Regions from separate parts of the Homo sapiens genome. Here region 1 is linked to region 2. Evidence: promoter capture Hi-C in 16 types of primary human blood cells and fetal thymus (Javierre and others, 2016). All regions are on one chromosome and are shown on one strand. The core of a region is centred on a gene start or on the middle of the fragment in contact, and the rest is flanking DNA. Distances in the headings are between cores, read along the strand shown. Region 1 overlaps STRA8 (stimulated by retinoic acid 8). Region 2 holds the start of AGBL3 (AGBL carboxypeptidase 3).

Evidence for each region. Contacts are between HindIII fragments. The CHiCAGO score rates a contact against its expected background, and 5 or more counts as called.
Region 1: a fragment that was not itself captured here is called in contact with the fragment with the promoter of AGBL3 in region 2 in 1 of 17 cell types (neutrophils); the score reaches 5.1 in neutrophils.

The regions. Positions count from the first base shown.
Region 1 is chr7:135,244,308-135,248,614 of GRCh38, forward strand. STRA8 (stimulated by retinoic acid 8) reads left to right here. Exons shown (of 9, transcript NM_001394401.1): 5 at 981-1,220; 6 at 2,110-2,395. Among named protein-coding and RNA genes, the nearest start is that of STRA8, 13 kb to the left of the region's middle. The HindIII fragment of the contact is 6,230 bases long and covers 1-4,307 here.
Region 2 is chr7:134,983,789-134,988,327 of GRCh38, forward strand. AGBL3 (AGBL carboxypeptidase 3) reads left to right here and starts at 2,720. Exons shown (of 17, transcript NM_178563.4): 1 at 2,720-2,913; 2 at 4,087-4,208. The coding sequence starts at 4,146. RefSeq lists enhancers at 2,622-2,921, 2,932-3,071, 3,152-3,411. The HindIII fragment of the contact is 3,121 bases long and covers 1,664-4,539 here.

The DNA of each region.
Region 1 (4,307 bases), core at 98-2,597, 260 kb after region 2:
TTGGCCTCCCAAAGTGTTGGGATTACAGGTGTGAGCTACCACGCCCAGCTGAGCTTGCTTTTTTGACTCAACATGTTACCTTGGGGATTATTCCTCTAAGTATAAAGAGATCCTGGGTGCAGGTCCTGACTTTTCCAAATTATATCCTATTGTTTCATTCTCTTCAAGGTGTCTTTTGAAGAGCAGAATTTGCAAATTTTGATGAGTCCAATTTATCCTGTTTTTAATAGATTGAGCTTTTTGTTTAAAACTAAGTATGTCATTTTTTCATGCTATTGTAAATGATGCTTTTTAAAATTTCAATTTCCAACTGTTCATTGCTACTATGTAGCAATATTATTCATTTTTATATTCTGATATTGTCTTCTGCAACCTTGCTAAATTCCCTTCTTGGTTCTAATGACATGTGTGTAGATTATTTGAGATTTTTCTACACAGATAATCACACTGTCTGCAAATAAAGACAGATTTGTCTCTTCTGCTCCAATGTATATTCCTTTTTTTGCTTGCCTTACTGGACTGTCTAGAACCTCCAGAACAATTTTGAATAGAAGTAGTAAGAGTGGACAGTCTCATTTTATTCCTGATCAAGAGGGGAAACTGTCTTTTGCCATTAAGCACGATGTTAGCGGTAGGTTTTTTGGAGATACCCTTTATCAGGTTAACAAAGCTCCTTTTTATTCCTAGTTTGCTGAGAGTTTTTATCATGCATGGATGTTGATTTTGTCAGATGCTTTTTCTGCATCTATTGAGGTTTTTCTTCTGTAGTCTGTTGATATGGTGAATTGCATTGATTGATTTTCAAATGTTGAACCAGTTCTCTTGCATTCCTAGGAAAAAGCTCATTTGGTCATGATGTGTACACCTACACACACACACATACATATACATGTATACTTGCTAAAGTTGCTAAGAATTTCTTGTCCATGTTCATGAGGGATATTAATCTATAGTTGTCTTGTTTCTGTTTTCTTTCCCAGCCTGCTTTCAAACAGTTTTCCTCAGAATGGTTCCTCCCCTTGGTGCCCAACTGAGGCAGTCAGGAAGGATGCTGAGGAGGAGGAAGATGAGGAAGAGGAAGATCAAGAAGAAGAGGAGGAGGAAGAAGAAGAGGAGGAGGAGGAAGAGGAGGAAGAGGAAGAGGAGGAGGAGGAAGAGGAGAAAAAAGTGATCTTATACTCCCCAGGAACTTTGTCGCCTGACCTCATGGAATTTGAACGGTGTGAACAGTTGGGTGGGGTGGCTCTGTGCACCCATGGAGCTCCCTCCCATGGGGAAGGGGACAGAGGCTCTGGCTGGGGTATGCTGCAGCTGTGTGCCCCAGCTGGAGTGCATGGTTCAGACTAGGCCCTGAATCACGAAATCTCCAGGATTTTCATATGGGAGGGGCTGAGGGACAGGACTGGCAGAGAGGCTAGAGAAATAGTCTCAAAGCTACATTAGCATAGCACATACACTCATACAGTGTTTTTACTGAGACTGGGTGTTTATTTGGGGTGCCTTGTGGGGGGCACAGCTGATGGTGATTATGAGGGCTAACCCCTCTCTCCCCCAAAACACATACCCCCACAAGTCCGCACTGCTCTTACAGTAGGAAAGATGGCGAATGGCTGGCTCAGACGTCCCTTGCCACTGCCTCCTCCATAGACTCAAAGCCCCTCAGCAGCCATGTTGGCTTCCAGAGGAGTTGGCTCAATAGCAGGAGGCTCTCTCCACAGCCGAGCCTGACTTTCGGGCTGCAGGTTAAAGTTGGAGTCCTATCATGCCAGCACATTCATGGGCTCAGAATTTTCAAGAATATTCCCTTAGGATGAGAGCTGAGGCAGCTACGCCTCTTATCTGCTTCTGTCTAACACAGAAGGCTTCATGGGGCAGGGACTGGGAGAACTTGGGGAGGGGCCCCAAAGCCCAAGTCTATGTCCTTCATGGCCCCCAGGAAGGCTGCTGCTCTCCAAGGGCCAGGGGCGTGCAGAGTCTGAGAAGTCTCAGCCCTGGTGAGCCGTGGCGCCGTGGCCGGGCCTGCGTGCTGGGGTCCACACCATGAACCGAATCCCGAATCGCTTCGAGAGGGAGCTTTAGGGGTGCGAGACGGCGCCGCTTCTGTTCCAGGTATCTCAACTTTTACAAACAGACGATGGACCTTCTGACTGGCAGCGGGATCATTACCCCGCAGGAGGCGGCGCTGCCCATCGTCTCCGCGGCCATCTCCCACCTGTGGCAGAACCTCTCGGAGGAGAGGAAGGCCAGCCTCCGGCAGGCCTGGGCGCAGAAGCACCGCGGCCCTGCGACCCTGGCGGAGGCCTGCCGAGAGCCGGCCTGTGCCGAGGGCAGCGTGAAGGACAGCGGCGTGGACAGCCAGGGGGCCAGCTGCTCGCTGGTCTCCACGCCCGAGGAGGTGAGCAGGCCCACCGGGGTGGCGTGGATGGGGCACGGGAACCACCCTCGCCCTCGCCTGGGGACACCAGGGCTTTGCATTTAGCAGGTTGGAGGTGCAGTTTGCCTTCTGGCTCCCAAGGTCGGTTTCTGATTTTCTTTTTTCTCTTTTTTTTTTTTTTGAGACGGAGTCTCGCTCTGTCGCCCAGGCTGGAGTGCAGTGGCGCGATCTCGGCTCACTGCAAGCTCTGGCTCCCGGGTTCACCTCATTCTCCTGCCTCAGCCTCCCGAATAGCTGGGACTACAGGCGCCCGCCACCACGCCCGGCTAATTTTTTTGTATTTTTAGTAGAGACGGGGTTTCACTGTGTTAGCCAGGATGGTCTCGATCTCCTTACCTCGTGATCCACCCGCCTCGGCCTTCCGAAGTGCTGGGATTACAGGCGTGAGCCACCGCGCCCGGCCGGTTTCTGATTTTCTAATCCCTGGGGTCACGGAACAGTATTTGTTTTTCTGCGGTTAGTTTCCTGGCCTTTCCCTGGGGATGGCAGAAGACAAGTCTTGAGAGGTTGTCTCAGTTGGGATTCTTTGGGCTGCCAGGGCCTGGATTATTAAACCACGAAGAAATGCACTCCTCACACCCGGGGAGGTCCGAGGCAGGCAGAGGAGCTCACCATGTCCGCGTGGATTCAGGCCTCTCTTGGCTCTGCTCAGTTTCTTATCTTTCCCTGCCCTCCCCACCTCCTCCGGCTCCTGTGGCTATGGAATGGCAGCTAGAGCAATCGAACTGTCTTTCTTCCTACTCTACATCAGGTAAGACAAAGATTTCCTACGAAAGCTCTTTCTTAAGAGTTAAGGAAGAACTTTTCCGGAACCGCTCCTCCCCTCTCATTGGTTGGAACTGGCCAAATTGCCAGCCTGCTGAGCCAATGACTGGCCATAGAGGGAATCACACTTGGACCAATCAGGTCCAGCCCTTGAAAGGCCGTCAGTTCCCACCCCAAAGAGCACTGGGATCGCTCTGTGAAGGGGAGGTTACCACAACTGCTACCGTAAATGCATTTCTCAGCTTTCAGAACGCTAGTCAGAATGGCCGTGGCCATAGTCTGCAAAGCAGAGCATCAGGTAGCATTTGAGGTCGCCCTGCACGGAGATAAAAGTGGGCCCACAGCTGCTCTTCCAGTATGAGGACGGCCTCAGAACACTGCTCTACCACACGGCCCACGCTCGCTCCTCTAGCCCAGGCGCAGCCGATTCGCATTCTGCACATGCCCTGTGCTTCGTGGACATTTAGCATCCATGGCTTCCGCCTGATACAGGCCACCCCCTTGCCCTGACTTTCCAAATGCTCCTCAGTCGGGGCGCCTTTGAGGAGACGACATGCTAGTTTCCCAGAGTCTCTCTGTGGAGCCTTAGGGCCAGAGAGCGTCCGATTGTCTCTGACCCTGGAGTTACAGCCCTGGAATGCCTCCGTTTTTTAGAAGGTTCCTCAGCTATCAGGCCCAAGCCTGGAGAACGACAGAGATGTCACCCATTCCTGTCCTTCCAGTTTGCAGGCCTAACCAGCAGTGTGACTTGCCCAGAACTCCCAGCTCCTGCTTCAGTGACTGTGTCTCTGTCATCACACATTTTTTCACATTACTCTGCCCTTTGGTCACCTGTTGATGGTCAACCCTCCATTATCTCCCCTGATGCTTCTCAACTGAATCACCTGTGGAGTTTTTTTTTAAAGTCAGGTGCCTGGCTGGGCGCAGTGGCTCACACCTGTAATCCCAGCACTTGGGGAGGCCGAGCAAGGTGGGAGCAATGCTTGAGCCCAGGAGTTTGAGACCAGCCTGGGCAACACAGTGAGACTGCGTCTCTACTAAAAACTAAAAAAAAATAAAAAGGTGTGGTGGTGGTACACCTGTAGTCCCAGGTACTCAGGAGGCTGAG
Region 2 (4,539 bases), core at 1,470-3,969:
TACCTTAAAATGATACTGATTCCAGCTAAGCTTTGGCTAAACAGTACTGCTTAGTATACAGCTGATCCCTGAAAAATACGAGTCTGAACTATGTAGGTCCAAGTATACAGGGATTTTCTTCCACCTCTGCCACCCCTGAGACAGCAACTCCACTACACTCCAACCTGGGTAACAGAGCTGTCTTTAAAAAGAAAAAAATTGTTAATAAAATAACCCTTCCTCTTCCTCTTCTTCCTCCTCTTCCTCAGCCTACTCAATGTGAAGACAAGGATGAAGACCATTATGATGAATGACTTACATTTAATGAATACACTTTCTCTTCCTTATAACTTTCTTAATAACATTTCATCTTACTTTGTTGTAAGAATACAGTATATAACACATATAACATACAAAATATGTGCTAATCAACTGTTTATGTCATCAGTAAGGGTTCCAGTCAACAGTAGGCTCTCAGTAGTTAAGTTTCTGGGGAGTCAAAAGTTATATGCAGATTTTCAACTATGTAGAGGACGATACCCCTAACCCCCGAGTTGTTCAAGGCTCAACTGTAGTTCATAACACAGACTTCTCAGTCTATGTACTTGCTGCTTACCCTGCCTGGCAGAGTCTCCCCCTAAGACATCCTACAGTTCATCCCTCTGCTCAAATGCCCCCTAGCCAGAGAGGCCTTCCCTGGCCATTCCATCTAAAAGAGTAACCTAGCAAGGCCCCCCACTCCCAGCATCCCCTATTCTTTTTTTTCCCCCCTACTTGATTTCTCTCCATAGCGGTTATTGTCTGAGTGATATCATTTTTATTATCATCATTGGTTTGTTTGATTACTCCCACCAGAACATAACCTCCACAATAAATGTCTGGTTTTTTTCCTTGCAATAGTGAACTGTCCCTAGTAGGCAGCAGCCATCCAGTGAATTTGTTATACCAAGGCATGAGGATCTCTTGGGACCAGTAGTTTGAGTCTGCAGTGAGCTATGATTGTGCCTCTACACCCCAACCTGGGTGACAGAGCTGTCTTTAAAAAGAAAAAAGTTGTTAATAAAATAATGAATGAATATCATTTTCAAAGTTTTGCCAAGTTCCTAAGTTTTTGGCCAGGCACGGTGACTCACACCTGTAATCCCAGTACTTTGGGAGGCTGAGGTAGACGGATCACTTGACACCAGGAGTTTGAGACCACACTGGCCAACATGGTGACACCACGTCTCTACTAAAAAATACAAAAATTAGTGGTGGCACGTGCCTGTAGTCCCAGCTAGTCAGGATGCATGAGAATCACCTGAACCCCAAAGGCAGAGGTTGCAGTGAGCTGAGATTGCACCACAGCACTCCAGCCTGGGCGACAGAGCAAGTGAGATTCTGTCTCAAAAAAAAAAAAAAAATCCTAAGTTTTTAAAATTATGCATTAAGATCATTTTTCTTCCCATGGACTACTTGGTATGTGATAATATAACTATTTGGACTAAAAATCACGAGACTTAAGTCTCTCAGCCCTGCCATTAATTTCTTATATAACCTGGTTAGACCATTTCTCAGTTTTACCTTGTACAGCTGACATCCTATGGCTTGCAGCCATGACTAAAATCCAACAGAAAAACAGATTACATAAATAAAGATTTCTCTGTGCATGTCACCTTTAGTGATTTATGTATGGCATAAAACAAGCTTCAACTATAAGAGCTACTTTTCAAGAGGTTGATCTAAGATATACTCTATTAATATTCTCTGGCCAAGGTCTAATCTGGAAGGTTCATACTTTTAAACTGCTGACCTCAAAAACACCTATTTTCAGATACTTACAAAATACAAAGAGATTATGTTAACCCATTTCCATGCTTAAGCCATAGTGCTTTGCCCTTTATTCTACTTTCAAACTTGCTACCATTTATTATCTCCATTTCTACAATATCACGAATCTCATGACATATAACGCTTTGTGAAAAGTGTTTATTTACATTCTTATATCATCAAAATCTAGACTTTTTTTCAGCTGTACTTGGAAAACTTTTCCAAATAGATTACCTTACCCTGTAGAGCTAAAGATGAGGGAAAAAATCAATATGGGATGTTCATGAATAACGTCTGTTAACTAAATGAGACTACATATAGTGATTTGCAGTCATCAGGAAAACAGTGTTAAATATGCTAGCTGACGATTGCTATAAAGAATCTCTGAGCTGATAATTTTGAGAATTCACCCTAGTTCATCTATGACTCTCCATTTAGTATTTAAGGAGAAAAGCCTCATTTTCCAGAATCGAATAAGCGAATTAATCGCACAATTGTGTAGAATGGAACTCAGTCTGTAAAAAATCAAGACCAACGTACTTTTTAATATTCTAACATCTCCAAGTAGTAGTTACAAGTATTGTACCCATGAAGTCCAGGTAATTAATTTGTTCAATGTCACACTGTTAAAAGTCAGGTGGGCTCCAAAGCACAGTCCTAACCAGCATGCTCTACTGCCTCCTCTGAGGCAACAGCCGAAGTGCAGACCACTGGGAATAAATAGCTGCCCGGTCTTCCCCACTCCTAAATTCTCCCGACAGACCCCAAAGCCTCTCTGAGAGCCTCTCTGACCGCCCTGCGGCCCACCCCGAGTTCCCGGCATCCTCTGGGATCCCTCTTCCTGGAGCCAAAACCTACGCAGGCTCCTTTCCTCCGAGCTGGTTGCTAGGTGATCTCCGAAGGCTGTCCGAAGTCTCGCGAGGGCGGACCCGTTGCCTGATGACGAGAGTTGGGAGTGTGGCTGGGGCTGCGGATCTCCAGCAGTGGCGTTACTTCTAGCGGCTGGATACCGGGTTCTCCGCGAGATCGCGAGATCCCGAGATATTCTCCCCGCACGGAAGCGACGACTGGCCTGGCCAGAGGACTCGCGTGGGAGCGAGGTGCCGGCCCCGACAGGACGGTGAGGTATGCAGAAGTAAGGCGGGGCGCCCCCTGCGGGAAGCGAGCGCGCCCCGGAAAATGAGCGCCTCCCCACACCAAGGTGTCCAGGAGTGAGTGCGGGAAGGAACTCGGCCGCCCGGAGTTGTGGCCTCATCGTGCTTCCCGCCAAAAACGCCTTGGTACTGTCGGGACGCGGCTAAGCGTGGACGCGCCCGCATCTGCCCCTCCTCCGCAGTGGTGGAAGACACCCGCGGAGCGCCGGTGGATAAGGGCCGTTTCCTGAGACCAGAGCTGTATCCGCAGCAGGTCAGCACTTCGTGCGCCCTGTGTGCACCTGTAAGGAATGGAATTTAGGCCAGTCGGATTTTCCAAATGTGGAGTTGTGATGCCCAGGCAGAAACTTCAGTTTCTTAGGACTGAAGGTGTCATCTATGAGACAGTCGGTTCCGTGGCATTGGCAGTGATTTGCCATAGAGCTTGGACTTAACTTATATGTAGTCCACGCTCCAAAACACGCTTCCTGTAGAGAGGGGCGTAAACTAATAGATTTGAAATTGTCGAGTCCTTTGGTCTCTCAAGAACGATGGGAACTTGACAAGAAATTTCGATTATTCCCTGGTCTTGATATTACCCACATGGGAAGATACTTGCATAGAATGGTAATGGTCATTACCAATACAACCTTCTGGTAGCTATTTAGATTTCTAAGAATAAGAATAATATAAATGAATATTAGAACAGACAGTATCTACAGAATAATAATCAAAATGTAAAGTCTTGTCACTTGAACTTTTGGTCAAGTGAAAATCAAGGAGAAAACTTAAAATTATATTGCTACATTTCAGTAAGTGACTATAATTTTTAAATTCATTATCTTTTAATGCCTCAGGATCATTCTGAACTTGCTGTGTAGTATTTAATTGTAAATATAAAATGTGAATGATTTGGCTGTATACTCTGGAAATTCCTTTTAATTAAATGATTTGCTTGATTTGTCTTATTGTGGTTGTTGTCTCGTATAGTCATGGAAAATTCCTTTAACTCTTTGAAATTGAAGGTTTTATTAGTTGTATTCTAATTAGTTTTTAGAGAAGACTGTTGTGACTGTTAAATACAATTGAATATATTTTTGAGTACTCATTTAATGTAGTAAACACCTACAGCTTGAAAAGAAAAGCTGTCATATAATTTCCTTAGAAATTGTTTTACAGCCTACCCGTATATTACAAGAAATCTCAAGTCAAACACTGGAAAAGATGTCAGAAGATTCAGAAAAGGAAGACTATTCAGACAGAACAATCAGTGATGAAGATGAATCGGTATGTTTTTCTCAACTTTATTTTACTTGGAGATAAAATTTGTATTATATAAATCCCCAATTAAAATATTATAAAATCAATTGGATATAAAAATCAATTGGATGTTTAAATTATTGTCATTGAAGTTGGGAAATAATTTGGCTGAAAAAGCTAAGCTATCACTGGGAACACTATGCCCTGTCTAGAAAGAGAAACTATATTTGTATTTTTTTTGAGAAAATATTTTAGCTAAGATTCTTCTAGGTTTTATTAAAATTTGTATATGAAATTATTAGTAGGGTTTTAGTTTTAGGATTGATGTCCACTTATTTTCTTCTATGTGCTGATTGGA